Regions from separate parts of the Homo sapiens genome. Here all the other regions are linked to region 1. The links are contacts of gene promoters, found by promoter capture Hi-C in human tissues and cell types (Jung and others, 2019). All regions are on one chromosome and are shown on one strand. Each heading gives the region's core, a stretch centred on a gene start or on the middle of the fragment in contact. The rest is flanking DNA. Distances are from core to core; before and after follow the strand shown. Region 1 holds the start of PTTG1IP (PTTG1 interacting protein). Region 2 holds the start of TRAPPC10 (trafficking protein particle complex subunit 10). Region 3 holds the start of PCBP3 (poly(rC) binding protein 3). Region 4 overlaps SLC19A1 (solute carrier family 19 member 1). Region 5 holds the start of AIRE (autoimmune regulator).

The links. The method cuts DNA at HindIII sites, captures the fragments that hold promoters and counts their contacts. A contact is called where the count stands out against the background at its distance.
Region 2: the fragment with the promoter of TRAPPC10 here is called in contact with the fragment with the promoter of PTTG1IP in region 1 in 1 of the 25 tissues and cell types used here (dorsolateral prefrontal cortex).
Region 3: a contact is called between the fragment with the promoter of PCBP3 here and the fragment with the promoter of PTTG1IP in region 1, in 2 of the 25 tissues and cell types used here (hippocampus and spleen).
Region 4: a contact is called between a fragment that was not itself captured here and the fragment with the promoter of PTTG1IP in region 1, in 1 of the 25 tissues and cell types used here (spleen).
Region 5: a contact is called between the fragment with the promoter of AIRE here and the fragment with the promoter of PTTG1IP in region 1, in 1 of the 25 tissues and cell types used here (dorsolateral prefrontal cortex).

What each region holds. Positions count from the first base shown.
Region 1 is chr21:44,871,683-44,877,886 of GRCh38, reverse strand. PTTG1IP (PTTG1 interacting protein) reads left to right here and starts at 4,197. Exons shown (of 6, transcript NM_004339.4): 1 at 4,197-4,385. The coding sequence starts at 4,271. RefSeq lists enhancers at 3,240-3,917, 4,075-4,575, 4,576-5,076 and a silencer at 3,834-4,483. The HindIII fragment of the contact is 14,261 bases long and covers 900-6,204 here.
Region 2 is chr21:44,008,738-44,014,941 of GRCh38, reverse strand. It overlaps TRAPPC10 (trafficking protein particle complex subunit 10), which reads right to left and starts at 2,633. Exons shown (of 23, transcript NM_003274.5): 1 at 2,382-2,633. The coding sequence starts at 2,448. RefSeq lists enhancers at 1,129-1,178, 1,199-1,258 and silencers at 1,809-2,478, 2,629-3,008. The HindIII fragment of the contact is 5,486 bases long and covers 1-3,940 here.
Region 3 is chr21:45,640,410-45,646,613 of GRCh38, reverse strand. It overlaps PCBP3 (poly(rC) binding protein 3), which reads right to left and starts at 2,889. Exons shown (of 18, transcript NM_001384156.1): 1 at 2,746-2,889. RefSeq lists silencers at 2,235-2,374, 2,695-3,684. The HindIII fragment of the contact is 13,348 bases long and covers 1-6,204 here.
Region 4 is chr21:45,531,397-45,537,600 of GRCh38, reverse strand. It overlaps SLC19A1 (solute carrier family 19 member 1), which reads left to right. Exons shown (of 6, transcript NM_194255.4): 3 at 5,453-6,204. Among named protein-coding and RNA genes, the nearest start is that of SLC19A1, 7.9 kb to the left of the region's middle. RefSeq lists an enhancer at 2,535-3,409. The HindIII fragment of the contact is 5,189 bases long and covers 1-4,970 here.
Region 5 is chr21:44,281,194-44,287,397 of GRCh38, reverse strand. AIRE (autoimmune regulator) reads right to left here and starts at 1,522. Exons shown (of 14, transcript NM_000383.4): 1 at 1,260-1,522; 2 at 667-841; 3 at 265-420. The coding sequence starts at 1,391. RefSeq lists enhancers at 2,043-2,644, 2,645-3,248, 3,249-3,850, 3,851-4,454, 4,871-4,950. The HindIII fragment of the contact is 44,459 bases long and covers 1-6,204 here.

The DNA of each region.
Region 1 (6,204 bases), core at 2,948-5,447:
ATAGAATGGAAGGTTATAATTTGTATGCCCCAAAGGCGGAGCATTAGCAAGGTCACGTTTGATCATTTCAAATGTTGGTGTATTTTCTTCTGACCACTCTAAAGTCCTGGCATGTCCTGTTTTTAGAGAGCGTATAAGGACTGAGCTTTAAAGAAAAGTTTGGGATCCAATTTCTATAATATCCTGCCAGTCCTCCACATCCTTTTGTTTCTTGGTTGTTGGTGGTGGAAAGCTAAAATTCCTTTCAGTCTATCTAGATTAGTAGAAAGTCTTTCTTTAGATATTAAGTGGCCCAAGTACTTTGTTTTTTATAAAATTGAGGTTTTTCTTTAGGAATTTTATGTCCCTTTAGGGCTGTTGTAATGAATGTATCCCATCTTCTATAAAAGCTTTGCTTATCTTCTGAGCAAAGGAGTAAACTGCCCATGTATTGTAATAAAAAATTTTTTTTAAGAACAAGTCAAAAGACTGGGCCCAGTGCCTCGCGCCTGTAATTCCAACACTCTGGGAGGTTGCAGTGGGCGGATCACCTGGGGTTCAGAGTTTGAGACCAGCCTGACCAACATGGAGAAACTCCATCTCTACTAAAAATACGAAATTAGCCAGGCATGGTGGCGCATGCCTGTAATCTCAGCTACTCGGGAGACTGAGGTGGGAGAATTGCTTGAACCCGGGAGGCAGAGGTTGCAGTGAGCCGAGGTAGCGCCATTGCACTCCAGCCTGGACAACAAGAGCGAAACTCCGTCAAAAAAAAAAAAAAAAGAACAAGTCAGTATGTAAGACAACTGTCTTTGCATCAGTTGGACTCTCAGTGTAGCCCTGAGCATGGCTGTCTGTGTGTATTGTCTGCCTTCCCAAGTAAAGGTAAAGAGAAATCAACACTTTCACACACAGAACTACTGAAGGATGTGCTAATAAGTCCACTACACTAAAGGACTTTGATCGGGGTAGCCAAGAGGATTCTTCCAGTATCAGTGGAAGACTCTGACCATATTTGATCAAGTACTGCCTTTAGTAGGTTTTGTAATTCTTCATTATTCAATAATTCAGTGTCTTCTAGGGCAATTAGGGATCGCAATTGGGTTAGATTTTGAAACTTTTTTTATGTCTAGTAACTCAGCTTTCTCATCTAATTCTAAATACGTCTTCCCCCTTTGGGAGAAAGAAACGTGGATATTGTAATTCTAAGAAGTCTCCTTTTATAAGATGGCTGGCAGCTGATAGAACCAGAAGGAAAATGTGAGTCCCTTGTAAAGGACCTAGTTGAAAAGCTATAGGCTGAGATTTACGTGCCGTTACAGGCGTATTAGTGACACCTACCCTTTGAACTTTTTTTTGACTCCAAGGAATGGAACCTTGTAACAAGATGGGATTTATTACAGAAAACACGGCTGCTCTATCAGCAAAAGCTTATGTCAGCAATGGGAACTCGTGTTAACTATTTTAAATAATTTTTATGGCCAGGCGTGGTGGCTCACGCCTGTAATCCCAGCACTTTGGGAGGCTGAGGCAGGTGGATCACAAGGTCAGGAGTTCAAGACCAACCTGGCCAATATGGTGAAACCCCATTTCTACTAAAAATACAAAAATTAGCCGGGCGTGGTGGTGCGTGCCTGTGGTCTCAGCTGCTCGGGAGGCTGAGGCAGAGGAGTCGCTTGAACCTGGGAGGCGGAGGTTGCAGTGAGCCAAGATTGAGCCATTGCACTCCAGCCTGCGCAACAGAGCGAGACTCCGTCTCAAAAAAAAAAAAATTATTTTTCCCAAAGTAGAGGCAGGGTCACACACTCGGGTATTTAAATTCTCTGGGAAAACCAGTGGGGTCCTGGTGAGCATCAGGAAATTCCTTGATTATACTTTTAAGTTCTACCTTTGACCATAACTCATGAACTAGGGCACATAGTTGTCCCCTATGAGAGACACTGGCTGTTTGAGCAATGGCCCCAAAACAGGAGGAGGAGGAGGAAGAAAGGTGGGTCTGGGCGAGGTAATTCAGACAACAAAGGATAAAGAGAAGGAGCTGAGGGAGGAGGGGGAGAAATTTCAGTAGTCTTTTTTAAATTCAGAAATTATTTTAGATAATTTTTGTTTTTCTCTCATAAATACCTTTATTAGAACTTCTTTTGGATGCTTCCAACTACCATAAAAAATAACTCTCCCAAAGATTCCGTTTTATCCTAGAGCCAGCGTTTTCCAATTGAGCAAACAAGTAAATTACCTTGGTGTTCCAATGGTACCCGGCTTTGGTCACTGAAATGTTTTTTCTCAAGTTACGTGAGACCATTTTTCTAAATATAACGAGAGGTGGCACCATAAGCACTGCACAGGAAACCAGCTGGAGTTTCCAAAGATGGGTCCTCCCTGAAGGAGAAAGACTTGTTTTGGATGGACGATTGCCTATGAGTTCTCTTAAGTGACAAAAGACTGTAAGGGAAAATCTGGTTACTCAAGAAGAAAGTTTAGACATGTCAAATTGAACTCAGCTCCAGAGCCTGGCCAGTTTTAAGGATTACAAATTTTGCTTAAGCCACGATTCGCTGCTTCTTTTCAAAGAGAAACTGCTTTCCCCTTCTCCAAATCTGAAGGACAAAAAAGGTTGCAAACTTTAGCAAGACGAACAAAACCTTAACCTCGAAGGATAGTGTTAACCACACACCTGCAAACAGCTGACTCTTTGGAGAAATAACAAACGAAACTCTTGCCTTAAAACCAAGCCTCAACTCCAGCCCTATCAGGTGTGGACCTGGGTAGGCGGAACAGAGTCTGAACCTCAGCCCTGGGAGGCTGCCAGAGACCCCGGCCAGGTTCCCAGGCGGTCCGGTGAACCAAGGCCGCTCCGCGGGTGCCAGCGCTCCGAGTGCCAGAGAAGTGGCTCGGATCACAAGAGGCTGGCTTCGGAGCCATCTGCAGGCGCCCAAATCCCAACCTAAAATCACCACAGGGTCAGAATCTAATGTAAGGGGGGGTTATTCAAAGGCAGTTGGAGGCTGGCCCACCCGGAAACACCGGCTCCAGAGGAATGGAGTCCGCCCTCGGAAGCGGGGAGGGGAAGGGTGCCCTCGGGCAGGCAGAGGCGGAGGCTTTTAGCAGGACCGCGGCGTCCTTCCTACGAGGTGGGCGCAGTCCTCGCGTTTGATGGACGACGGGCAGTGCCTGCTTCAGGGAAGGGTGCGGCAGTCACGGTTTCCCGTCTTCTGGTCTAAGCAGTGCAGAAAACAGGGAAGTTCATCTACAAGGGTCATGAACTAAGAAGGCAGGAGGTTTCTGTCCCCGGCACCGGCGAATCCCGGACCCGAGAAAGGAGCTACGGGCGCACAGAAGCGGGCGGCCCCGGCTCTCGCGGGGCTTAAAGCGCGCAGTGTGTTCGGGTTCACACCTCTAAATGTATTTTTGCCATTTCTTAAGTAGCCTTAAAAATGTCCGTCACTATTTAGTCCTTTTATCAACCGAGGGGCCCGGAAGGCCGCAGCGAGGGCGTCGGCGAGAAGCCATGGAGGAGAAACGGCGCTTCTCTCGGGAGTTTAGGTGGCAGCTTCAGCAGCACACGTTTCAGCCCATTCTGGGGCCGTTTCTAGTGTGGTTAACGTACAAAAATAAACAAATCCCCTAAAAGTCCCACGCGGACATCGGCGGGAGCCCAGGGCCGGACGCCGCGGTGTGGAGCGAGGGCGCCGGCGCGGACTATGAGGGCCCACCGCGCCTCGTCCAGGGCTCACTTAAGAGCAGCGTGAGCAGCGCTTGGGACCGCCGTCCGGGACGCCCGCAGCCCTTTAGGATGGAGGCCACCGTGACCTCCGCCACCGAAGCACCGCGCTCCCCTAGTCCCCTCAGCCGGTCGCCGTTCCCCGCCGCGCAGGCGCAGGAGCCGCGGCGAGCCCCTCGGTCACGCCTCGCCCCTCGGTCACGCCTCGCCCCTCGGTCACGCCTCGCCCCTCGGTCACGCCTCGCCCCTCGGTCACGCCTCGCCCCTCGGTCACGCCTCGCCCATCCGCGCCGCGCAGGCGCACTGAGCCTCAGCCGCTCTCCTCGCTACCAGGCTCCTTTCCTCTATCGCGCAGGCGCACTGAACCTCAGCCGCGCCGGGAGGCGAGCCCGTTGGCGAGGGGCGGGGCAGATGGCGAGGGAGCGGGGCGAGCTGCTTTTTGAGGCTGCGCACTCGCATGGCCCCACCTCGCAGGTCCACTTCCGGCGCCGCGGCTGTTCCGGGCGGAGACCGCTTGTGCTGGAGTCGGAGTTGTAACGCTCCACTGACTGATAGAGCGACCGGCCGACCATGGCGCCCGGAGTGGCCCGCGGGCCGACGCCGTACTGGAGGTTGCGCCTCGGTGGCGCCGCGCTGCTCCTGCTGCTCATCCCGGTGGCCGCCGCGCAGGAGCCTCCCGGAGCTGGTGAGGGCGCCGGGGCGGGCGGGGCCGCGAAGGGGGCGGGGCGGCTGGTGGGTCCAGGTCGGGGTCGGGGTCGGGGTTTCGGCCAGGGCGCTGGGCTCGGCGGGCGGCCTGGGCCCACGGTCGCAGGCAGCGCCCCGACGGAGGCTCCTCGAGGGTCACGCCCGTTTGGCGGCCGCGGGAGCTGCCGTCGCGGCTGGGGCGCGGGCAGGGGAAGAGCCGTCTTTGTCTTTGTCTTTGTTTTGTCCAGTCGCTGCGGCCGCTCCTCGCGCGTGGCCTCGGGTTGGCCCTCGCCCGGCAGGCGGGACGCTTGGCACCTGCGGCCTCCCTTAGCCTCACTGCGACCCCAAACAGCACTCCTCGGGTTCGATCCCGAGCCGGGAAGCCGGCTCACGACGTGTTCGAGGTCGCACAGCTGGTCGGGGGCAGGCCGGGATGGCGGCCGCAGGCCCCTGCAGGGTGATGGGGCCGCGGCCGGTGTGTCTCTACAGCCGCCGGCGTTCACGCCGCCACTCCCTCCCGGCCGCAGTTCCACGCACAGCAGCGAACGCTCGCACTTATGCCTTAGAAAGGAAGGCGTCCCCAAAGCCAGGCTGTAGCATCTGATTTTGAAGCAAGCTGATTGCGGTTCTACGCTGTCCAGACGCGCAGGTGGCATTCTTCATCGTTTATCCCGTCTGCACCAGGCCCTGCGGCCACAGTGGTGACCGACAGCCAGAGCTCCTATCCAAGAGGAGCTGAGTCCCCGGGAGGCTGACCAAGAAAGAAGCAGTGAGGGCGCGGGGGCTGGGGGAGGAAAGTGCATGACAGGAGACTCAGAGTTCCAGAAACCGGCAGTGTTTATAGAGGGTGGCTTCCTGTGGGGCTGGGCCTCCAGGGCCTGGTGGGCTGCGGGAAAATCCAGCAGGTTCTAAGCTGGAGAGTGTCATGGTTGGACCTGTTTCACAATGTCATGCTGGCTTCCGTGTGTGGAGTTTCCAGGTGACCACTAGTGGTGGGGAATAGTGCCACCTTAACTTCAGTTTCCTGACCCTTACAATTAGGGTTGACCTGGGCCCAGCTTGAGGGGCTAATACTTTTCTCAGCTCTTGTTAGCCCAGGCTCTGTCAGTGTCTGTTTAGCATAGTAGAGCACCTTTTCTTTTTGTGACCTTATGGAATGTTTATTCCGATGCAGGATTATTTGTGTTTCTTCTTACCTGCCTCCAAGTGTGCTTAGGGTTTGTGACGTTAGCAATGCAGCTGCCTTGAAGTTTGTTAGTCAAGGAGGCCAGTGGGACTGTACTGGGAACTTTTGGCCCAGATTGAGTTCTAAGCGCAAATGTGCAGTGAATACGTTTCCACAAACAGAATGGGCGTCTGCAGGCAGAGTGTGTGATTCACTGGCAACTGTATCAGTGGCTCGGGGGTGTGTTTGCTTGCATTGTGAAAGCGGGAGTGTCAGGAAAACAACCATGAGGTTTTGTTTGACTGTGATTCCTCCTGCTCTGCACTGCTGAAGGGTGCAGAGATGGGTGTGGACGAGTGGAGTGGACAGTGTGGGAATTAATCCGGAACTGCCATTCGGTGTGTCAGCTGAAAAGCCATTCGGTGTGTCTGCACTTGGAGGCTGCACTTGCTTGCTTCCACTTATGGTAATCACCAAGTCCTGGTGGGTGGACTGTTGTTTCTCTCACTGGGGACCCCTTGGAATAGGAAGAATGGTGCCGTGTCATGTTGGCATTCACTGCCCAGGCGCCTTTGGTGTCTGCGTGCCCCTTGTCCTTGGAGAGAGGGGCTATTTATAGCCTGGAGAACTCCCCTCTTCCCACAGAGTACTTGCT
Region 2 (6,204 bases), core at 1,384-3,883, 860 kb after region 1:
CTAAAGCTTCAGTCCCAGATATACCACAACATAATTTCAAGTGGGAAGTATGAAGTCAGCTTTTTACCTTCACTTTTAAAGTGATCATTTTTCAAGTTAACTTTGACAGTCTACTGAAGCCCCCTTCTCTTCTGAGACTCCAATGAATGAAAGTTTGCACCTTCTAGGACAGTGTACCATCCATGCAGAGATTAACATTCACTATGTTGCTTGAGGCCAAGGGTGGGGGCTCAAGCCTGTAATCCCAGCACTTCGGGAGGCTGCGCAGGTGGACAACCCAAGGTCAGGAGTTCGAGACCAGCCTCACCAACATGGTGAAACTCTGTCTCTACTGAAAAAAAAAAAAAACAAAAACAAACAAACAAAAAATTAGCCGGGCATGGCAGCATGCGCCTGTAATCCCAGCTACTCGGGAGGCCGAGGAAGGAGAATCGCTTGAACCCGGGAGGCAGAGGTTGCAGTGAGCCAAGATCATGGCCGAGATCATGCCACTGCACTCCAGCCTGGGCGACAGAGAAAGACGCCGTCTCAAAAAAGAAGAAGAAGGAAAAAAAAAAATTCACTCTGCTGCTCAAAACACAGGAAAAAACCCACCACCAAGATGACAATCCAATAAATCTGTAGGAAAGAAAACCGCATCCTTCAGCTGTCCGTGATGCACGCATGTACAAAACTAAACATTAAATATCTCCAACACTGGCAACCAGATAACAAACTTTACCCCTTTAGTTATGGTTGAATCCAATAGAGCTTAGGAACTTTCTCCTCAGAAATGTATTTACATAATGCCTATAAATACATATTGCTATTGAAATGTAAGCAAGCTAGGAGGTAGAAGATAAAATTAGATGTGTGGATGTCCGTACAGGCAATGAATGTGTATCCAGCATTCACAACGTGCACAGCACTTTAGGAGAAAAATGTTCAACCTCTGGAAGACAGTAAAACTTAACATGAACTGCGCATGGCTTCATCTTCCCTGAGCACTGGGAAAGCCCCTGGGAAATTGCAGGGCCTGCAGACCAGCTCTACCCACATCTGCCCTCTGGGGCTGAAGGTGCAGAGTAGGAAAAGACTTTCAGCTGACAAATATTCTGGGGAGGAAAAAAGACAGCTACTGCTGAACTATGCAAGTCTCCAATTTTAAATGAGACACAGTCCACTTCCCTAAGAAAAGTCTATCATCTCGTCTAGGTCTCTGTAGAAAAAAAAGAGAGAGGAGGAGAGGAGAAGAGACAAAATAAAGCAAAAGGAAGGAAAGAAATAAGTCTATCACCTAAAGCTGAAGCAACAAAATTCAACCTTCAATATACAGTTTCTCAGGGATCTAACAGGAAGGAACACAGCAGGTGCACACCCGCTGACAGAGTGAGAGGGAAACAGGAGTTCTCACGACATACAGTCTACTGTGGCCTGGGCACCCAGATTTTGCAACAGAGAGTGCTTCCTTTCCAAGCACGAAAGACAACTAGAAAAAAACTAACTGCATACATGCATGAAAATACAGAATACTGTCAAAGGTCAAAAATCGTAACAGTCTGAAACACCTCTCTGCAAGTCACCTAAAAGCCAACCAACAAACATTTCAATACTTCCCATAAGCTCACTGTTCTTAACCGTATTTAACTCTGGAGAGTCACACTTCTAAAATTTAGGGAACATTTTTCCCGTAACAGAAAAACAGTTCCTTTGTGTATGCATTAAAGGAGGGGTGCGGGGAGGACACGACACCCAAGAGGCACCAGGTGTCCGTAGTGTAGACTCGAGCGGGAGGCTGTTCATGGGGAGCAAGCTCGCCTAAGCGCCCGAGCCTCGGCTTTCTCATCCGTAAAATGGTTTGAGTGCGCGGCGGGGAAGTGTGTAGGAGCGAAAGCAGTCCCGGCGGCTCTGCCTGACGCTTCACCCCGCAACAAACTGTTCCTACTTCGCCAACGCCTGCAACTCTGCGAGCCCCCAAGGACTTCCCCGTAGTCGGGGAAAGGGCGCCCGCGGGCAAAACCGCCCGGCGGAAGAGGCCGGGGCCCCCAGGTCCCGGGCGCGCGGCTCAACGGGGGCGGGACGGGGCGGTGGCAGCCCCCGCTCCTCGCCCTCGACGCCGGCGCGCGCCCAGTCCCGGGCAGAGTCCGCCGGGTTCCACCGGCTCCAACTGCAGCCGGCCCGAGGGCGCCCCCCAGGGGTCAGAGGTCGCCCGGCGGGAAGGTCAGAGGGCGTCCCCGAAAAGTCAGAGGGCCCCGCCTCAGCCGCAGCCCTGGTCACACCTCCAGGAAGCGGCCCAGCCCGGAGCGCGCCGGGGGCTGAAGGTCTGGGGGCGCCGGGTGCATAACGCCAGGGCCCGGGCCCGCCCAACGACCGCCGCGCCCTCCCCGCCTCCGGGCACTCACAGGTGACGATGGGCTTGTTCTCCATGGTGTAGATCACCGGCGGCAGCGGCTCCTCAGAGGCGTCCATGGGCGTCCGGCGTCACCGGCCCGGCCCCCCGCGCCCCATGGGCAGCCCCGAGGCCGCGCCGGGCCCAGCCGGAGCCCGAGCCTGAGCGGCGCCGCCCGCCCGGCCGCGCCAGGCAGCTCCGGAGCCGGTTGCGCCGCAGCTGCCGCCCGCTGCTGCCGGCCTCAGCCACTTCCGGCCTCGGCGCCGCCGCATGACCATTTCCGGGGCGCGCGAGGCTTCACGGGGCGGGTCTTCGCCGCGCTTCGCCTCCGACGGAAGTGCGCCCGGGCCGGCCGCGCGGGACCGGGAGGTGGGAAGTGGGAGGCGGAGCGGGGCTCCCGGGACACGTCCATCTTCCTCCCTCGGCAGTGGGCGCCCCGCTGGGCCCTGCGCCGGAGCTGAGGCCAGGACTCGGCAGGCGGGCCTCGCGCGCGGTGAGCGAGCCTGGACGCTCCCGGACCAGAGACGCCGGCCTCGCTGCCCTCGCGTTCCCCGCAGCTCGGGCGTCCCGCGGCGGGCCGCTGCTCCCCGGCCGGGCTCCTTATCGCGCTGGGGGCTCCCGCAGGCCCTCGCCGCTGAGTGTCCCCGGCGCGTGCCTTCCGCCTACCGCTGGGCTCTTCCCGTTTCCCTCACGCCGCAAATGTTTTTGTGGGGACCTGGCCCTCGGCATTTCGGAATGCCACAAAATAAACCTCACACTTAACTGCATATGGGCTTCTTGTGCACGTAAACGGGGGGGGCGGGGCGCGGGTGTTTCTTTTTCTTTTTTTCTTTGGAGCAGGGTCTTCCTCAGTTGGCTCAGGCTGGAGTGCAGTGGCGGGACACGGCTCACTGCAGCCTCCACCTTCCAGGCTCAAGCGATCCTCCCGCCTTGTTTCCCCCCGCCCCACCCCCTCCGCCAGTAACTGGGACCACGGGGGCAGCCACCACGCCCAGCTAATTTTTTTCTTTTCTTTTCTTTTGTCGGGATCTCACTATGTTTTCCAGGCTGGTTTCAAACTCCTGGGCTCAAGTGATCCTCCAGCCTTGGCCTCCCAAAGTGTTGAGATTACAGGTGTGAGCCATCACTCCCAGCCATAAAATGACAAAAACTGTCAACCAAAAATAATCAAAAGGGTCAGAATCTAGAGTTTAGTCAAATGCGAAGCTTGAGGCGCCCAGGAAACATTATAAAGAATGGAAGTCAGTGTTCTCAAACGTAGAAATTTGGGGTCGTTTCTATAGCCAGCGTCTCGGGAAGCCTAACCGAATTTCAGCGTCTTTTCTGTATAAGGCCTAATGCATAGTTACAACAGTCTGTTTAGTCGAGGTGGTCTTTTTCTTTGGGGACCCACTGAAGATGAAACAGTCCTGGGGTCTCTGTGCTGTCTGGTCTAAGTCAGGTACAGGACAATGGAGACAGCTAATCTGTAACAAAAATCACCAAATGGGAAGGGGGAGACCTGGTCTTTCTTAGTCATTAACAGCAGCAGTCCCCAACCTTTTTGGCACCAGGGACCAGTTTCATAGAATGCAGTTTTTCCACAGACAAAGTTGGGGTGGTTTCAGGACGATTCAAACACATTTCATTTATTGTGCACTTTATTATTTTTATGTTGTAATATGTAATAAAATACAACTTCCCATAATGTGGAATCAGTGGGAGCCCTGAGCTTGTTTTCCTGCAACTGGACGGTCACATCTAGGGATGATGGAAGCCAGGGACACATCATTAGGGATGAGATTCTCATAAGGAGCACGCAACCTAGACCCCTCCAATGTGCAGTTCACAACAGGGTTCACCCTCCTAGGAGAATCCAGCGCTGCTGCTGACCTGACAGGAGGCGGAGCTCAGGCGGTAATGCCAGCGATGGGGAGCAGCTGTAAATACAGATGAAGCTTTGCTCCCTGGCCTGAAGCTCACCTCCTGCTGTGTGGCCTGACCGGTATGTGTCTGTGGCCCTGGCGGTCGGGGAGCCCTGATTTACAGAGCAGCCACAATGAGGAAGACACTTGTGCTCAAGAACAAGGAGGAAGAGCATTAAACTGTAATCGAAGAAGCAGAATTGCAAACTTGCTACTGACTCAGTCTCCAGGGCTTAACTTCACCCTTGGCATCATAAGTTTAGAGAGTCCTGAAGTTTTTTTTAACAAAATGTATATATGAGATAGTTTGGGTGTGAACACAGCTGCTAAATGTGTGAACATAGTGTAGTGTGGTGCACTGTAATGGTGTGAGAGGCAAGAGACCAGACTTCTGGGCAGCTAAAGCAGCAGGCCGGCAAGGCAGGGCACTGGAGGGGAAGAAGCTTAGCAAGAGTGGGGAGCCGAAGTCGATGTAGGGTTCCCTGAAAGTCCTTGGCCTAGGCTGGACTACACGTGTGGGACGACTCTATGGGTTTACCAGGAAGCGGCTGTTACAGAGTTGAGGATGGCACAAAGACTAGAGGTCCAGTAGTGCTACAGGAAAGGACTTTCCGTTTTGTTTTCTTTTCAGACAGTCTTGTTCTGTCACCTAGGCTGGGGTGCAGTGGTTTGATCGTTATCTCAGTGCAGCCTAGAACTTCTGGGCTCAAGTGATCCTCCCACCTCAGCCTCCCAAGTAGTTGGGACCACAGGTGAGTGCCACCACGCCCGGCTAATTTTTTCTTTTTTTGTAGAGAGAGGGTCCCACTCTGTTGCCCAGGCTGGTCTTGAACTCCTGGCCTCAAGCAGTCCTCCTGCCTAATCCTCCCAAAGTGCTGGGATGACGAGTACGAGCCACCGTGCCCAGTCAAGACCTTTTTAATGCCATTAACACTGAGGACATTGAGCTGAGACACTAGATTGAGAATCACATTCCCAGGGGTCAGCAAACGACCTATAAAGGGCCCAGATAAGTATTTTAGGTTGTGTGGGCCACATGCAGTTTTTGTTTCATATTTTTGCTTGTTTTTTTTTTTTTTTTAAACAACTCTTTAAAAATATAAAAGCCATTCCTGGCTTTAAGTGCTGTACAAAAACAGGCCATCAACACATGTGGCTTGTGAGCCAGAGGTTGCCAGTCCCTCCCCTAGAATAAGGACTACTCCAGGCCCGCCTTAACAACGTCTAAAGCAAAACCCTGACCCGATCCACAAGACGGTCAGAGTTTGGAGGTTAAGTCCTGCCAAGTAAGAGGGGCCTGGGAGACACCTGGGACATTGCTCAGTAAACAGAGCCTAAAGCTAAGCCTACACAGCCCAGCATGGTACGTCCAGTAATGGAACTACAAACTAGAACGAAAGTCAGGATTTTTCAGTGGAAGAGCACCCTGAGTCTCCCTCATTTGTTATTTATCAGTGTTGAATATACACTAAAAAAACAAAAATCACTAAACATACAAAGAAAGAGGAAAACGTAAGCCATAGTTAAGAAAAAAAAAAAGCAGTTAACAGAAACCAATCCCCCTACAATGAACCAGATTCTGTATTTACAAAGATTCTAAAGCAGCTCTACATATGTCCAAAGGAGGCTGGGCACGGTGGCTCACACCTGTAATCCCAGAAATTTGGGAGGCCGAGGTGGGCAGATCACTTGAGCCCAGGAGTTTGAGATCAGCCTGGCCAACATGGTGAAACCCCATCTCTACTAAAAACACAAAAATTAGCTGGGTGTGGTGGCGCACGCCTGTAGCCCCAGCTACTCGGAAAGCTGAAGCAGGAGAATCGCTTGAATCCGGGAGGTGGAGGTTACAGTGAGCCAAGATAGTGCCACTGCACTCCAGCCTGGGTGACAGAGCAAGACTCCATCTCAAAATAAATAAAAATAATATGTCCA
Region 3 (6,204 bases), core at 1,640-4,139, 770 kb before region 1:
GTTAATGGATTAGTGGGTTGTCATGGGAGTGGAGCTGGTGGCTTTGGCCCCCGGACCTTAGACTTCTCAGCCTCCATGACTATAAGAAATAAATTCCTTTGCTTTGTAAATTACCTAGTTTCAGGTATTCTGTTATAAGCAAAAGAAAACAAACTAAAACAAACTGGTACTTTCTTAAAGGAATGGTTGTTAAGAAAACAGGGTTTCATTTAATGTCAGTGATTTGTTACTTGATGCCCATACTCAAGCAACAAAACTCCCACCTAGAGAGACAGTGAAGACTAAGCAAAGGAAATTGAATGTTGTAGCATAATTATCCTCCTTAAAAAGAAGAATAAAATGGCGTGTTTTCAAGACACGCTCCCATTCAACATAATTTCCCTGATCAAATTTTATTTAATAATATGAATTCTGAAATTAATTTTAAAGTACACTGGAAAGGAAGTTTGAGCTCCCCCTGCCCCAAAACACACACACACACACACACACACACACACACACACACAGAGAGAGAGAGAGAGAGAGAGAGAAAGAGAGAGAGAGAGAGAGAGAGAGAGAGAAACAGGTGACACGGATTCAGCACCATGGACAGCGGGCCCATGACGCCTTGCCTCTGAGTCACTGCCACCAGGGATGAGAGCTGAGACATCAGAGCTGCCCCAAAATCTACAGCATTTATTCTAATGTTTAAGTTGGGGCAATTCCAATACATGAGCAAGTATTTTCCTTGGTTATGGCCCAAAGCACTGCCTTCTTCACTGAGAGGATACACAACTTACATCTACTAAAATCTGTTTCAGTGTTCACCTTTACAATAAAGCCATGAGACTTTTGTAAAAATAGAAATGATTCTGCCATTGACACAGGAACTGAAATAATCAAAACTGATACACAGAATCCAAATCTGAATAGCTAGATTGGTTCAAGAAGCTCGTGAGGCTTTTTCAAATTTATAAATGCAGCATGCTGTCAGCCTCCTCAGAACAATAGGGTAAAGAATAGCTTCTTCAAAACAGCTAGCAAAATACAACTATATGTTGAACTTTTTCGCATAAATAGCTAAAAACGTAACCACAAAGCTGTGTGGGTTTTCCCCCACCATGAGCATTATAAAGATATCTGGGAAAGTGATGTTTTGAGGTCCAAAAGCACCACTAATCAGCAGCACCTGGGGCAACGCCAGCCAAAAAGCCCTGAATTCTAGACAGAGTCCATTTTTTTCAGTTATAAAGACCCCATTTATCATCAAAACTTTTTCAAAACCTTATAATATTATCAACTAAGAAAATACGTGAAGCTACGTAAGTTCTAAACCATTCGTAATGAACTTGCACTGTATAAACAACAGCATCTACATACAAGCAAAAAAAAAAAATACTGCTCGAAAGTGAGACATCAGTTAGTCGGTCACTGCACTTGTTAGTTTTAAGGCCCCATGTTTTCTGACAGATCTCCAAGCCTGAAAACACCAGAACTATTTCTGCTTCTGTCGTGTGATGATCAATTAGGTCCTTTCAGATCTTGCAAATGATCCCTTTAGAGTGCCACTGTTCTACAAACACTCCTTTTGGGGCCAAAATAGGTATCTCTGACACGCTTTAAGATGATGAATTATTCTTGAATATGAGGAGGACTGGGAGTTAGTTCTCTTAAATAGGGAAGCACCCTTGCACACTCCTTTGGGATCCACATCTGAGAAAGTCCAAAGAAAAGAAAAAGGGCAACAGTTTGCCCCTGAAAGTGAGTTCAATTTCAGAGGGATATGTGAGGGCCTGTGCCAGAGGAATATTTTTGAAATGGGGGGAGTCTATAAGTTGCCCAGTCTAATCTCTAAAGGCCTCTCCGCAAGGCCCTGCTGCTCAAGATTCCTTCTGGCGAATCCCACTCTACAAACACTCAACAACTAAGAGTGCTACTGGCTCACATGGAGGGCTAACAAGACCTGCAAATCCAGGCTGCTCTGAAGGACGGTGGAAGATAACCAACCCCGAGCCACGAGATTTAGGACCCGACTTTTGGTTAACTTTCAAATTTCTTATGCCAGTAATATACTTCAGAGTGGCGCGGAGGGAATTGGAAAACATCACCAGGCAAAAAAAAGAAAAAAACTCTTTCACGAAACAAGACTTCCAATTAGAACACGTGTGGGGACAATAAGAAACACGTTCTAACCACCCCCAAAATTAAAATAAAACACAGCGAGCAACAAGAGAGACCTGCGCGCGCCCCACCGCCCGCGCGCGGCTCTCCGCAGGGTCACCGAGGGGTGAGGCCGCGCTCTCCCGGCGGCCGTCCAGGGGGAGGAGGCCCCGCGCCCCGCCCCGCCGCCCTCCAGCCGCCGCGGCCGCTCCGGGGTGTTCCCCAGATCTCTTCTCAATCAAGAGATGAAATTTGTGCCGTTTTGAAACTGAAGCCTCAAGTAGTCCAGACGTTTTCTGACCCACATCCGAGACGTTCTCGGCTTCCCGCCGCAACTTCCGAATTTGGGGAGGGGGCGGAGGCGGGCGGGCCAGGCCTGGCGACCGCACCTTGAGGGAGCGCGAGTCCCCTCGCTGCCCCGGGCCGCCGCAGGCGCCGGCGGCGGTCGGGGACGGCGCGACCCAGCCCGGGACCCCCGCCCGCCCCGGCTCGGGCGAAGTTTGCCGCGGCCCGGGGTCGCCCCGTCACTCGGCCTCCGTCGGGGACTGGGTCCCCGTAACCCGCAAGGGCGCCCGACCCCGACCCCGCCCGCCACCGCTCACTCACCTGCCCTGCGCCGGACGGCGAGCCCGCGGGCCGGCGGGGAGAGGCCGGGAGGCCCGGGCGGGGTCGGGGCGAGGCGGGTGAGGAGGCGGCGGCGGAGCCTAAGTCAGCCGAAGCGGCGGCGACCGCGGCTGAGGCGGCTGAGGCGGCGGTCGCGGCTTCAGGCGCTCCAGCCCGAGCGCTGCGCGCGGCGCGGGCCCGCCCCTCTGCGCCGCTAACCAATCTAGCGCCGCGCGCCGCCGCCGGCCCCGCCCCCGCCCAAGGGCAGGCTCGCGAAAGCGGGCGCCGCGGGCCAATGAAAGGGCGGAACATCAACCGGCGCGGCCAATCCGAGCCCGGAAAGTTCTCTGGAAAAAGCCAACTCCAGTCAAAGGGGCGGGGGTGGGGCTGGGGGCGGGGCGGGGACCTGGCCCAATGACGCGCGGGGCGGGGCCGAGCATTGGGCGGGGAGGAGGCGGGGCCTCGAACGGGCGGGCCGGTCACTAGTAGTGGGCGGGGTCGTAGGCGGGACATTGAGCGGGCGGGGCAAGAATCGGGGCGGGGGCCTAATGAAGTGAAGCGGGGAGGGGACGGGCAGTGGGAGGGGCAGGTCACATTTGGGGTGGGGTGGGGGCGGGGCAGGGGCGGGGCTGAGTACGGGAGGCCAGGCCGGGGAGAGGCCTAAGTCGGGGCGGGCGGGAGAAGGGCAAGAGCAGTGGGCGGGGCTCGGGGGTTAGGGGATTAGTGCCCTTGCTGGGGCGGGGCCCAGGCTTGGGGCGGGCCTGTGGTGGGCAGGGCCGTGGATGGGCGGGGCGAGCCTTCGTGGGCGGGCCAGGCCTGTGGTGGGCGGGGCGGGCCGTTGGTGAGCGAGACCTTGGTGGACGGGGCGGATCCGCGGTGGGCGGGGATTTGGCGGGCGGGCGGGTGGGCCCGACGGGACGGGAATGGCCGTTGAATTCCCAGCCGTGCCGCAACCCCGAAGGTCCCCCTGCAGCGCCCGCTTCCCGTTCTCTGTGGGCCTGGCCCCGGCCCGGAGGCTGGGGCCGCAGCGCCCGGCGGGCAGGGGCCCCGAGCGGCTCGTGAGCCTGTGCCCAGACGCTGCCCGCCCCGCGCTGGTCCCGCCGCCCTGTCCCCTCCGCCCGCCCGGCGTTCGCGTGCCGTGGCCTGGGGCGGGGCGTTGCTGGGCCCCGGGGGCTGCAGGGGGAGGCCGCCCTTTCTCTGGGCTGGCTCCGGGCTGTTCCGCTCCGCGCCGTTTTCCCGGTACTTCCCGCGGAGCCCGCCTCGCTGTGCGTCCCCGCCCGGGCGTTTCTTCCGCGGCGCTGAGCGCCCGCCCCGGCCTCGGGCAAGGGCAGCCGGACGCCCCGAGGACCAGGGCGCTGGGGCCGAGGCGCGTCCTCCGCAGTCGCCGCGCCTGGGCCCCGTTTCCCCGCGGGTCCTCGCCGGGGTGGGAGGCGCCTCTTGGCGTCCGTGGGGAGCTGGGTGTGGGGGGCGGCAGGGCAGGAGGTGGGGGGGCTGAGCCGGAGAAACGTCCTCGCCCCGCCCGAGACCTCAGACACCCCAGAACCTCGGGCCGGCAGCCAGCTGCAGGAATCGCGCCCTAAAGCCTGGGGTCCGCGCCCGCCCGCCTCCCGCGAGCGCCAGGGGCTGCCGGGTCACCGGGATGCAGCCTCGAGGCGACGTCACAGACCCCACGCGGCCCCCCGAGCACCCCCGGAGCCGGCGCGGGGACAGGGGTTCGGGATGGACGGAACCCACGCAGGGAACGTTCCGGGCCGTCTACGCCAGGCTCAGGGCGGCCGTCAGCTGGGGTTGGAGGTGGGTCAGGAAGAGATGTGTCCTTTTGTCTCCAAATGTCGCTTGTGTCATTAAAAGACAACCTTAAAATAGAAGAAAAAAAAAAAAAAAAAGCCTGGGCTGGCGTGAGGAGGGGCCGTCCGCGAGCTACGGAGGCTGAGTCGGCGGGGAAGGGAATGTGGAGTGGGGCGGGGGGGGCGCTTGGCGAACCCGTGCTTTGGACGCGCTTGGCGGTTTCGGGGAGAATGAGAATGGAGGGGAGGGAGGCCAAGGCCTGCAGCCTGGTGGGAATGCTGGGAAGGACGCTGTGGACAGGACCTTACTGGAAATGAACCAGAAGGGAAGGTGGGCCGGGCGCGGTGGCTCGCCCCTTAATCCCAACGCTTTGGGAGGCCGAGGCAGAAGGATCGCTTGAGCCCAGGCGTTGGAGACCCGCATGGGAAACATCGTGAGACTCTGTTTTTAGAAAAGGAGGAGGAGAAGGGATACTGGGCGGCCTCTGCCACACCTGGACTCTGCGGGCAGGGGGCCAGAGGGACCCAGGGCTGCTGTGCTGGAGCTGGAGCTGGCGCGAGGGTCTGGGCAGAGCACTGTCAGCGCCCCCAGATTACAGGCTGCCAGCCTCCCCCGGTCCTCTGCGGGAGCCTGCGGCCTCAGCTGCCTGCCCCGCCGGCTGAAAGACACAGTTAGTCATTAGGAAAGTAATGATAGTGTTTTCAGGGCAGCGTGTTAGACCCTAAAGACTTTCTATTATTTGCAGTTCCTGCCAACCCTGTGAAGAAAAAAAGCAGCTCATCTCTCACGCCCCGCCTCTTGACACACGCTGATCCGGCCTGGTTCTGGGTTTTCCCGGAGCCTGCAGGGCAGCCCCGCCCCAGGCGGCAGCAGCTGGGCCTGCAGCGTGTCCCTCATGGTGCCCGGCCTCCAGGTCCAGAGTTTCCTGCCTCCCTGAGCTCGGGGTGCGCTGTCTCCACCCTCTCATGGCCGTCAGGGTGCTGGTCCCGTCAGAAGTGCACCCAGGGGCTCGCATTTATAAATAACTCCAGGGTGTCTTGCTGTGGGTTTGGAAATCGGGAAGGCAGGTTATCATCTGCTTGGAATGATGTCAGATCCAGCCCCAGGAAGTCTCCCAGCACCCGGCCTTCCTGCTTGTCATGGGCTGGGACATCTGGAGGGGTAGGGGCGAGGGCCTTCTGTAGCTCCACATTAGCTGGCTAAAGTGTGGGGAAAACAGTAACACACAGAAAGCAATCATAATAGTAATTAACGTCAAAACCTTGCAAGATGTTTAGGCCTCCCAGGAGCCCTGGAGAAGCCCAGCCCTTCCACATAACACCAGCACTCCCAGCGGCAGGGCCTCCATCCCCCTGCTGGGGAGGGAGATCCGGAGTCTGGGTGGAGTGTGTGGTCTCTGGCCTTCAGCAGGACTACACTCCAGGCTGAGCCTTTCCTCAGGCAGAATTCATACCCTTACCTCAGCCTACAACCCCAGCACACATGTTACCTAGGGGCAAATTAGTACTTTGCCCTCATGTCCTCTTCACAAAGCACTGGGGTAGAAGTCCTTCTTCCAGGGACCAGCAGCACCCAGCCCCTGCTTCCCCAGGCTCCTGCCCTGCACAGGGACCGCTGCCACTGCCCACCAAAAGCTGCTGGGGGGTGTTGGGGCTGGCTCAGCTGAGCTCACAC
Region 4 (6,204 bases), core at 1,127-3,626, 660 kb before region 1:
GTGGGCGGGGAGCAGCTTCTGGAATAGGCACGTGGGTGCCGGGGTGCCGGGCGGCCGCCTGTGGGTGGGCGGGGAGCAGCTTCTGGAATAGGCATGTGGGCACCGGGGTGCTGGGCGGCCGCCTGTGGGTGGGCGGGGAGCAGCTTCTGGAATAGGCACGTGGGTGCTGGGTGCCAGGGCGGCCGCCTATGGGTGGGCGGGGAGCAGCTTCAGGGGCCAGGGCGCTTTTCCTGTTGGATGTGTGAGCACTTGAGGCTGGAGCGGGTGAGTGGCCGTGTCAGCTGATAATATGGTCCTGGAGGGAACCCGGCTGGGGTCTCACACTCCCAGCAGCGGGCACCATCAGATGGAGGGGCCTGGCTTCGGCCTAGTAACCAGGCTAGATAAAAAGTGATATTGTGTCCTGCAGAGAGAGAGCCTGCCCCACCCCACCCGCCAGGCCGTGCTCATCGGCCCTCCTGGTGAGGAAGCCCACGTCCAACCCTGCTGGGCACCTGCCTTCCACAGAGACTTAGTGGCTATTTACCTAAAGAGATTATTGAAGGAATTTTCATTTTACTCAGCCATGAGGACAAAGGGTCTTATTGAAACTGTTCTAATAGGCTTATGCCCAGTCACGGGTCTCTCAGGTCACATGAGCGGTGGAGGCGGGAGCGGCCGTATCCGAAGCAGTTTCCTCCTGGAGCTGTGGGGTCCTTGTCCATAAGGCACATCTGCACAGGAAGAGCCTGGAAAAGCGCTCTCACAGGCTGCCGGCCCAGCTGGTCACCCCGACACCCCATCCCAGGGCCCTGGGCCTGCTCACCTGCCCATCCCAGCCGCTGACCCCGTCCTCTGCTCCCACATGGCTGACGCTCGGCATGCCTCTTGTTCCCTGTGTCTCCTGGCCGGAAGCCGGACCCCAACCCTCCCAGACCCTAGAATTGTGAAACTGATGTGCAGCTGAGGAGTGTGCTATTGGGACAGTGGAGGTGCTGCCCTTCCCGCGTGCCCAGCTCAGAGCACCGTGCGGTGTGATTGTGTCTCGTCCCACGGCCAGCACTGCTAACCGCCAGGCTGGGTCACTTTCTAGGCGAGGACAGGGTCTTGCCCTGGCTCCGGCTGTCGGTGGCGGGGCTGGGGCTGGAGCGGCGGAGCCATCTCCTTGACCCCTCATGAAATGCCTTCTGCTCCTGGCCAGTCCGTCCCTCTCCCTGCCACCCACTGACCAGATGGCATCTCTGCTCTTAGTGGAGGGCCACTGTCCACCGCCAAGGTTATTTATAGGGGTGAGCATTATGTGTGGCGTTTCCCTTAAAATAACAAAATAAGAAAAGTCTCTAGAGCAAAAATGTTTAAATCCCATCTGCCTGCCCTCTCATGTTGTACATTAACGGATTAAAAAGTAGATTCCAGAAATTAAGCCATTCCACCAGGCCTTGGATATCATCAGAGGGACGATGGGTGCAGGTGCTCTGCGCACCTGCCACTTGGTGGGGCCCCCGATCTCAGCCCCTCTGGCTGCAGGAGAGGCCCGGGGAGAGCTTCATCACGCCCTCCCTCCTGGGGCCCGACAAGAACTTCACGCGGGAGCAGGCACGTGGGCGCCGGGGTGCAGGGGCAGCCACCAGTAGGTGGGCGGGGAGCAGCTTCGGGGGCAAGGGAGGCCCAGCCTGCCAGGACTCGCCAGCCCCTGTTGTTGCCAGGCTTGTGTCTAGGAAGTTCACGTAAGTGGTGTCTTGTGACCCAGCTTTCGCAAGTTGCTCTCCTGCCCAATCTGACTTGAGAGACGTTCCACGTGGGTTCGAGGCTGTTCTTAAGCTGCGCCTCCTGGGTTGAACTACAAGGTGCTTATCTGCTGCTTTGCTGGAGGTGATTAGGGGATTCCGGCTTCTCCCACTGCAGGTGATGGCTGCAGGTAGAGCACGAGCTGGCAGCCTCAGGCAGTGGGCCTTGACCCAGCTGGCCCGGGCTGGCACTTCCAGTTCACTCCTGGGGCGAATGCTGCTTCCTCTGCAGCCTGCCACGGGCTGCCCACGTTCCCCTCACCAGCTCGGGTGGGCTGCTGAGCGCCGGCCGTCTGGCCGCTGTGAGGAGCGTGGTTTCCTTTGCTCACATTTGCTCTGCCGCCATTTCTCCCGCCGTGGGCCAGTGTTTCCTGGCAGCCCTGTGGTTGCTGTCCTCCTCGGACCTGGTTCCCTTTTCTGCCTCCTGGGGACCCCGTGCCCTTGGGATTGGACTGGTTGTGTGTTACATACGGTGTTTCTCTGGAGTCATTTTGAATTTGGCCAAATTTCCCTCCAGGGTTTCTGCTTTGAGTGTCAGCTGAGAGCGCTTTCCCCGGCCGAGTCCGTGAGGTGCTCCTGGGTGCACTGAGGTTGCCTGGGCCCCCGCTGGAACTGTGCTGTGTGGTGGGAGCTGCAGCCCCCGCCCTCCTCCAGGGAGACCCCCCGGCCCAGGACCCTGTGCACAGCAGTCCCTCCTGACCTGCGGCCCATGCCCCGTCCCCAGCCAGCCCCTGTTGGGTGCCCTTCTGTGGCATCCAGTCCTGCTGCCCCACGCCTGGCCCTGCCCTCGCGTCCTGCCTGCCTTCGGGCCTTGCCCACCTTCCCGCCTCCCTGTTCAGAGAAGCCGCCCTGAGGCCGTCTGGACGTAGATTTGGGCGCAGCTGCCTGCACTCTGCCCATTCAGCCTGGACCCCAACCAAGACCTGTGGAGAGCAGGGCCGACGCTGGGCTCAGGCAGCAGGAGGCTGTCCTCGTGTCAGAGTCGTGGCCGCCTGACAGATGCCACCTCCCTGCTGGGACCGTTGTGAGGGCCCCTCCCCCAGCAGCCTTGTAAGTGGGACGCAGGTCACAGCTCTGGGCAGAGCCTCCCTGCTGTCTGCCTGCCAAGGCTGAGGAAGAGGGAGTAGGGGCCGTTGAGGAGGTGCAGGGAGAGGAGCGGGAGGGCTCTGGGTGGCTGCCAAGGGGGAGCTCTGCGCTCAGACCCTCAACTAAGACCAGGAGGTGCCTGATGAGGCCCCAGCCTGCAGAGCCAGCTCCTGGTGGAAGAGGAAATGAGGCATGCTCCATTCATTCGGAGGTGGGTGAGGCTTCTAGGACCCCTGGCCGCCCTTTTCCAGAGAGCCGTGGGGTCTGGGGAGAGCCTCTCTGCTGGCTGTCTACCATTTTGACTCTGGGCTGTGGGCAGAACCTGTGCCCCGGCCAGGGGCTGGGGCTGTCATGCCCCCACGCAGCCTCCTGTGTCTGGGGGTCGGGGGTCCCTGAGGTCCTAGGAGGACCCCTGCCTCTGAGCCGCTTCTTTCGGAATCTGCAGGGGTTCCCTGGGCTGGCCCTGAGGAGGAGCCTCCCCCAGTCGAGCAGGCCATCAGCCAGGAGAGCTTGCCCACAGAGGGGCTGTTTGATGTCCCCAGGACATTGCTGTAAACACAGTGCAGAAGCCGATGGCTGGCCCTGAGGCTCTCTGTGACCCGGCGGGCTCACTCAGCCTCCTGGCACATAACCTGCCCTCAGAGTGTCCCGGAATGTCCTGAGCAGGACGGAGTGCCGGAGGGACCTTGGGTGCCTGGTGCTGCTGGGACCACAGCCTTTGGGTCAGCCTGGCCTCCATGAGGGTGCAGGCTCCAGGGTGCGACCTCAGGGTGCCCTGAGGTGGGGTCTCTGGGCAGCCTTCCCCTGAGCCCCTGGGAAGCTTCTCAGCATGCCGGCCTGGCTGCAGGGTCCTATTGCCCAGCTGTTCACAGTAGCCGGTGGCCGGGCTCTGAGCACATCGGGCCACACATCTTGGGTGTGCCAGACACGAGGCTGAGAGCCCCCGGGGAGGCGGCGTGGCTCGGCGCAGCACCCCACGTGCTGACCCAGGGTTTGGTCCTGCCAAGTGTGGCTGGCAGGGGCTGAGGTCACCTGGGGCAGCACGAGTGGGGCTGTGGGGTTACTGGTGGTCAGGCCTGAGTCGGGTGGGGCCTGCTGGAGGCCCAGAGTCCAGCAGGGCCCTGCTGGCTCATCTGGTACCAACCTCCAGTGGATCTGAGGTGGGGTCTGGTGGGGCCTGTGGGCGGGGCCACCTGCTGAAAATGCACCTGGGCCCCAGGGGAGGCTCCAAGCATAGGGTGGCTCCCACATCAGTCCCCAGGGAGGGGCAAGGCAAGCGGCTTGGCCTCACAGGGGTGGGGCCTCTTCCTCTGGACTGTGCCCAGGTGTGCCCAGGTGTGCCCACAGCAGCCCTGGCCCCTGCCAAGACAGCTGAGGACGTTTGGTGCCTGCCTGTAGTAGTCTGGGGCAGTGTCCTCTGACCTTGTCCTGTAGGAGGTAGCACCCCCAGCCCCGTGCCCAGCTCCACGTTCCCATGGAAGGTGGATGTGTGTTGAGGCCACAGGCATGGAAGCCAGGCCTGGAGTGTCCACCAGCAGCTCAGTGGCCAAGGCTGTGGAGCTGGGTTCCCACATAACATGTGATGGAGGAGGTGGGGGTGGGCAGGCTGACAGCCTGTGCTCCCCCTCCTGGGAGGGTGCAGGGCGGCTACAGGGGCGTTTGCCCCCCTCCCTGCTCCTGGGTTGGAGTCTGGCCTTAAAGACCTTGCTCTGGGGACAAGTGTGAGATGGGAGTGCACAGCCCAGGGCCCTCTGCCCTACCCCACTTCCTCTCTTTCCCCTTCTTCCCCTTCCTGTCTTTCTTCCCCTGCCGGGTTCCCCCACGAACAGTCCCTCCCACGAACCTGCTGTCCCTGATCCTGCCCTTCCTTTCTGTGTCTTCTGTTTTTGTCTCTCTCCAGGAAGGATGGAAGAAGCTTGTGCTGGTGTGAATGTGTATGGGTTACAGCTGTGTTTTCCATATTGTTTAAAATGAAATAAAACCATGTTTTGATTCTATTAAAAATAGAGAAGCTGGCTGGGTGTGGTGGCTGGTGCCTGTAATCCTAGCACTTTGGGAGGCTAAGGTGGGCAGATCACCTGAGGTCAGGAGTTCGAGACCAGCCTGCCCAACATGGTGAAACCCCCATCTCTACTAAAAATACAAAAATTAGCCAGACATGGTGGTACGCACCTGTAATCTCAGCTACTCGGGAGGCTGAGGCAGGAGAACTGCTTGAACCTGGGAGGTGGAGGTTGCAATGAGCTAAGATCGTGCCACTGCACTCCAGCCTGGGCGACAGAGCAAGACTCTGTCCCAAGAAAGAGATAAAAATAGAGAAGCTTAGATGAACAGGCTTGTTAATAACGATTCCTTCTGTGGCCACTGCCAGCTTTCCGCAGGCGAACGCTCCCAGGCTGCCGGGACGGTCGGGAGCCAGAGGTCCCTGTTCAGAGAGGACGATGCAGTGGGACATGGGACAGGGGCGTGTTGGGGAGAGGGGTCCCACCAGGCAGTGTTGGGGCAGGAAGCCGTCAGCAGCCATCACCTCGGGCGGGCTGTGTCTGCCGCAGCGGCAGCATTGCTAACACCTGGTGGGGCGCACGCCCGCCTGTCCGCAGGTCACGAACGAGATCACGCCGGTGCTGTCGTACTCCTACCTGGCCGTGCTGGTGCCCGTGTTCCTGCTCACCGACTACCTGCGCTACACGCCGGTGCTGCTGCTGCAGGGGCTCAGCTTCGTGTCGGTGTGGCTGCTGCTGCTGCTGGGCCACTCGGTGGCGCACATGCAGCTCATGGAGCTCTTCTACAGCGTCACCATGGCCGCGCGCATCGCCTATTCCTCCTACATCTTCTCTCTCGTGCGGCCCGCGCGCTACCAGCGTGTGGCCGGCTACTCGCGCGCTGCGGTGCTGCTGGGCGTGTTCACCAGCTCCGTGCTGGGCCAGCTGCTGGTCACTGTGGGCCGAGTCTCCTTCTCCACGCTCAACTACATCTCGCTGGCCTTCCTCACCTTCAGCGTGGTCCTCGCCCTCTTCCTGAAGCGCCCCAAGCGCAGCCTCTTCTTCAACCGCGACGACCGGGGGCGGTGCGAAACCTCGGCTTCGGAGCTGGAGCGCATGAATCCTGGCCCAGGCGGGAAGCTGGGACACGCCCTGCGGGTGGCCTGTGGGGACTCAGTGCTGGCGCGGATGCTGCGGGAGCTGGGGGACAGCCTGCGGCGGCCGCAGCTGCGCCTGTGGTCCCTCTGGTGGGTCTTCAACTCGGCCGGCTACTACCTGGTGGTCTACTACGTGCACATCCTGTGGAACGAGGTGGACCCCACCACCAACAGTGCGCGGGTCTACAACGGCGCGGCAGATGCTGCCTCCAC
Region 5 (6,204 bases), core at 273-2,772, 590 kb after region 1:
CCGGGCTCTGGTTTCTCATCAGTAAAAGGGAAATGAGACCCGCCCGCCTACTTCACCAGCTCCGGGGAGCTCAGCCTTCAGGCAGGAGGGAGCTGAGAGGCTGGTCCAGTGTGTGGGTCTAGTACCCAGAGGAGACCCCCACAGCCCCAGGCAGGCTGGCCCCACACCCAGTGGGTGGGAGCCCGGGTGGGGAGGGGGCGTGGGCTCCCGGGGAAGCCCGGGAAGACTGGAGACCCTGGCTGGCTTCCCCTGCAGGGAGGGTACCTGGGCTGGCGGTGCCCCTTGGAGTCAGGGCTGCTGGCGCGGCAGCTCGAGCCTCTTCTGAGGCCTTCCTCTTGGTGGGGAGTCTGGGTGGCGGTACCAAAGCCTTGGGGACGGCCGGGGGCTTCCTCCCCTTCCGGGGCTGGCTGAGGTCCACATCTGCAGCTCAGGGGCAGGAGCAGGGTCCCAACCTCAGGGTTTTCTCCAGGGGTAGGGTGGGCCCCAGAACTGGACACCTTGGCCAGACAGGTGAGGCCTGGCCCCTTTGCCTCTTAGGATCCAAGACGGTCCTGGAACATCACCCACGGGCTCCTCAAACACCACTCCGGTTCCAGTCCAGCTGGGCTGAGCAGGTGACAGCAGCTGCCCCAGGCCCCCAGCATGGCTGAGTCCACCAGGACCCACCTTTGGGGAAGCTGTCCAGGATGGGCTGCAGCCGGCCATAGCGCTCCAGGTTGTAGTCCTTGAACAGCACCCTCCAGAAGTCCAGGATGGCTGTGGAGTCCTGGGTCAGCAGCCAGGACAGGAGGGCGTGGAAGGCCTGGGGGCAGCCCTCCTTTTCCTTCAGATGAAGCGTCTCCTGCAGTGGGGTGGCATGAGGGTCCCTGCCATGGTCCCCCACACCCTGCGGCCTGCCCATCTCCATCATGACTAGAGGGTGGAGCTCCCAGGCAGAGGCGCTGGCGACCTGGACAGCTCCACGCCCATCTCCTCGGCTTGTGGTGGAGTCAGGTGGTGGTGTAGGGGTGTTGAGGGTGGGGCTGGGGGAACCTGGAGGCCATTCCCTTGGCTTGGGGGTGAGGTGTGGGGACGGCTGGGGGAAGGGGACCAACTTCTAACTTGTCATCAGGGACGCCCCTGGCTCCTTGTGGGGAGGGAGTTGGGGAAGGCTGGAGGGGCTTGGGGATCTGGAGGGGCGGGGTCCTCCTGGAACTTCCCCGGGGACTATCCCTGGCTCACAGGGCCTGGGGGCAGCGGGGGGCGGGCGGGGAGCCCACCTGAAACTTGTCCTCGGGGACCACGTCGTGGTCAGCCAGCGCGTGCAGCAGTGGGAAGGCGCTGTCCACGGCCACCGCGATCTCCGTGCGGTGCAGCCTCAGAAGCCGGCGTAGCGCCGCGTCCGTCGCCATGGGGTGGGCGCGGGGACCCGGGGCTGGGGCGGACGCGGTGGGTCCCGGGACACTGGCAGCCCCTCGCTTGGCCTCGGGTCCCGGCGGGGCTGTGGGGCCTCCGCGCCGGCTGTGCGCCCGCCCGTCTCCCCGGTCTGCGAGCCACGCGCGCCGCTGTTATACCCCCGCGACCACGCAAAGAGCAAAGGCCGCTCCGCCCCGGCGCCCAATCAGGGCCAGGGCCTCCCGCAGGGACACTTCCCTGTGATGGAGGCGCTGCTGTCCCTCCCTCGCTCTCGGGAAGTCTCCGGGCCTGGCCTGACTCACCCACCAGGGCAGCTGCCTTGGGGGCTGGGGACAGAGACTCGCTCTGTGCGGGACTCAGAGAACTCTCACTTCCGAATGTGGCCCTGTCCTGCCTCGGCGAGGGCCCTGCTCGAATGGGGCAAAGCCGAGACAGGTGCCCTCGGCGGGGAGGCTCGGGTCTCAGGGCCCTGGCAGGGGCTGCCCAGGGTGCACCGGCCCCTCCCAGTGGCCGGCAAGAGCCTCCATGGAGGCTGGATCGGGGTGGTGTTCCTGGGGGACCTCCACACAAGCTGAGAGCCCCTACTCAGGGGCCCGCCTGGGGCTGTGGGAGGAGCCCGATGGAGGCTCAGTCTGATGCAGGAGACGGTACGGCAGCCTGGGTGTTGCCAGGGAGCTCCTGACCTCACCATCTTAGGCTAGCTGTGTGACGCCAGGCAAGTCCTTTCCTTCTCTGAGCCTCGGTTCCCTCATCTTTAAAAGGGGCACACTCGCCTGGGGATTGAGGCTCGCATTGACCCCCTCCTTCCTTCCTCCAGGTGCTTTAGAAGGAAGGCGGCCAGCCCCACAACGGGGGTCCTGAGTGTGGCCCTGAGTGAGAGCTCCCAAAGGGTCTTCCTAGGACCAGTGACAGAGGCTGAGGGATGCTGTGGCCTGGACAGGAGCTTCCGGGGGCATCTGGGAAGGTGTCCGGGAGGGGAGCTGCAGTGGACAGGAGCCGAGGGTCCCAGGTGGACGTGAGTGGGGACAGTGCCCCCAGTAAAACAAGACCAGGTGCAGAGGCCTGGGGCCTGCAATGATGCTGAGGCTGTGGTGGCCCCGCAGGCATGGCCTGGAGGGGGGGTGGCCTCAGTGGGAGGCCTTGGTAACAGTCCCCTTGTCTGTGCGGTCAAGCCAGGGAAGCAGGCCCTGTGTGCAGGCTGCAGAGAACCACGAGAGGTCTCTGGGCACGAGTGTTCCCACTGAGCCAGAGAACGAGATGACCTGGCCAGCATGGATTAGGGCTGAAGGGTGGACGAAGGTACCAGGAAGCCTGAATCCAGGCAGCACTGGGCTGGGGGCTAACTGATGCAGTGAGAGACGCCACCAAGATTCCCACGTGGGCAGGCGTGCCGTTTGCTTTTGGGCAGCCAGAGTCCAGGATGGAGAGCGGCAGACACCTCTCCTCTAGACCAGGGGTCGGTCTCGGTTTCTCCTACCGCCTTCAGGCCCAGGGTCCCCCTGAGCGTTCTGCACGTCTGAGATTGCTCCGGAAAAGACTCTAGGGGTGTTTGGGAACAAACCTGGGGAGGAAGGTGGGGCCAGAGGTGGTGGCCGAGGTGGTCAGCCTGGGGTCAGGTGCTGGGGACGTCATGGGGAGCTGAGGGGGAGGGGGTCCATCTCAGTGGTGGCTGTGGAGTATCAGGCAGTGCAGGGTTGGAACAGGCTGGCTCCTGTGTGGAATGTCCTGGGAGCCTTGAGCGGGGAGCAGGGCCCTCTCGCTGCCCAGGCCTGGGCGTCTCTCACTCCCTGCACTGCGCCTTCCGAAGACCCCGAGAGGGAAGCCCCCTGCCTGCATGCCTGCCTTGCCGGTCCCCGCTCCAACAGACACATCCTGTCCCCAGCCAGGCCGGGCTGCTGCTCGCTGGGTTTCCTGCCCTCTCCCCTGCAGTTCTGTATTTACAGCAAAAATATTTAAATAACTGCAAGCGAAAGTTGCACAGAAGCCCAGCTTTGCACAGGATCCCTGTCTGCTCCTGAAACACCCCCATTCTCCTTGCTCATCCATGGGCAGGGGTCTCACGAAGGGAGAGCTCACTAACATCAAGTTCAATGGCAACCCTTGGGCCCACTGGCTGCACAGTTCATGCATAAAAGCCCCTGGGGTGCCAGGGAACCAGCGCACACAGCTTTGGGATGACCAGTAACCGTTGCTCCCAGCAACTTGGCTTTCCTCTCCTTTGAGGCTGTGGGGAAAAGAAAGAGAGATCAGATTGTTAATGTGTCTGCATAGAAAGTAGACATAAGAGACTCCATTTTAATCTGTAACCCTACCCCCAACCCTGTGCTCCCTGAGACATGTGCTGTGTCAACTCAGGGTTAAATGGATTAAGGGCTGTGCAGGGTGTGCTTTATTAAACAAATGCTTGAAGGCAGCATGCTCGTTAAGAGTCATCACCACTCCCTAATCTTAAGTACCCAGGGACACAAAACACTGCGGAAGGCCGCAGGGACCCCTGCCTAGGAAAGCCAGGTATTGTCCAAGGTTTCTCCCCATGTGATAGCCTGAGATATGGCCTCCTGGGAAGGGAAAGACCTGACCGTCCCCCAGCCCGACACCGTAAAGGGTCTGTGCTGAGGAGGATTAGTAAAAGTGGAAGGAACGCCTCGTTGCAGTTGAGACAAGAGGAAGGCATCTGTCTCCTGCCCGTCCCTGGGCAATGGAATGTCTCGGTATAAAACCCGATTGTATATTCCATCTACTGAGATAGGGGGAAACTGCCTTAGGGCTGGAGGTGGGACAAGCAGGCAGCAATACTGCTCCTTAAGGCATTGAGATGTTTATGTGTATACATATCTAAAGCACAGCACTTAATTCTTTACCTTGTTTATGATGCAGAGACCTTTGTTCACGTGCTTACCTGCTGACCTTCTCTCCACTATTATCCTATGATCCTGCCACATCCCCCTCTCCGAGAAACACCCAAAAATGATCAATAAATACTAAGGGAACTCAGAGGCCAGCGGGGGTCCTCCGTATGCTGAGCGCCGGTCCCCTGGTCCCCCAATTTCTTTCTCTATACTTTGTCTGTGTCTCTTTTCCAAGTCTCTCGTTCTACCTAACGAGAAACACCCACAGGTGTGGAGGGGCAACCCACCCCTTCAGAGGCCATCCTGCCCCAAAGTCACCCCCTGCAACCCGGTGGCTTTTCCCTCCCCAGATGGTTAAGTGAGTCAATGGATGCCTTAGCCCAGAGATGGTTAAAGGGGAATTAAAAACTGCAAAGCGAGATCCAAGTCTGCACTTCACTTTTTAAAAAAGACCTGCAGTCTTTGCGGGTCACCTGTGTCATTGGGCTGGGGCCTGACCCCTGTGGGCAGGCGTCACCCAGCCTCTTGCATGGAGGTTTAACAAAGAGGCCCCTGTAGAATTTCGGACTTTCCACCATGCCGTGGGGCTTTCCACACCAGCCCCTTGCCCGCAGGTGACATGGAGCCGCCACGGCTCCCTGGAGGTGGCACAGACCCCTGGAGGGGGGTGAGGGGCTGGGGACTCGGCCCTGTCTTCAGTGGGACTGATGCCTTTGTGGGACTGAGCCTCAGTTTCCCCAAGAGGCACCTGGGCAGCAGAGCTCTGGGACAGTATTGGGCTCCATCCCTGAGCCCCGTGTCCTCGGCTGGAGCGGGAGGGCCCCGCAGCCCTTTCTCCCACATCTGTGCTGTGCCCTTGGACGCCTGCGGACCTGCCATGCCCCGGGCTAGGCCCTGAGAGCTTTGTGATTCTGCTCACTCCATCAGCAGAACGGTCTCCTCAGGTCATCATCGTGATTAGTGCCATCCACAGATATGGAAACTGAGGCCTGTTGCCGGGAGGAGCTTGGCCAGAGTCACGCAGCTGCTAAGGGGCAGAACCACGACTCGGACCTTGATGCACGGAAGAACAGAGGTTCTCCAGGTCCATGCTCCTGCTGTGCCGGGTGCCCCTCAGGTGCCCAGGTCACGTCAGATGTTCTCAGCCTGCAAAGTGGGGGGACGCGGCCCATGTGATGTGTATAGAAGTTGGGAGGAGCCAGGTCCTAATGGCAGAGCAGGGAAGGGGCTGGAGGGGGCTCAGCCTTGGCCCCTCAAACAAGCCTGGACTCCATGCCTTCTCCCCTGCTCCAGATGGAGGTTCCATCCCCTGTGGCTCCCTGGAAGGGCCAGGCTCCCAGAGGCCAGGAGCCTGAGTCAGAAAGGCCTCGGGGAACATGGAGCCCTGGCCAGGCCTTGGCTCCTGGAGGCCCTGGGCCCTGCTCCTGCAGCCTGGCCAGGTGGTCTGGCATCAAGGGAGGGGTGGGTCCCCTCAGGACACTTTGTGAGGACCCCTAGCACCCTCCTGGCCACAGGCTTCCTCACTGGGCCTCAATTTCCTCACTGTAGAGAGGAAGTTGCCTCTACTTGTTGAGGGCGGGATGGCCATTCCACATGGTTGTCCAAGTCAGGGAGGCAGCTCCGAGCACCGGTGAGCTCAGAAGAACCCGTGCTCAGCCAAGGGCATTGGAGGGGGGACCCCCTGCCCCCTCCCCTCCTACTACTCTTGCCTCAAACCTGCCCCACTGGTTGGGCCTCAGTTTCCCTGGTCTGGCCTCTCCACTGCGTCCCACTGTGGGTATGTGTCCAGACGGCGTCACTTTTCTCAGTGAACTAGGGGAAGTGGTGCCAGATTTTTTTCTTCTTTTTTTTGAGACAGAGTCTCGCTCTGTCGCCCAGGCTGAAGTGCAGTGGCGCGATCTCGGCTCACTGCAAGCTCCGCCTCCCGGGTTCACGCCATTCTCCTGCCTCAGCCTCCCGA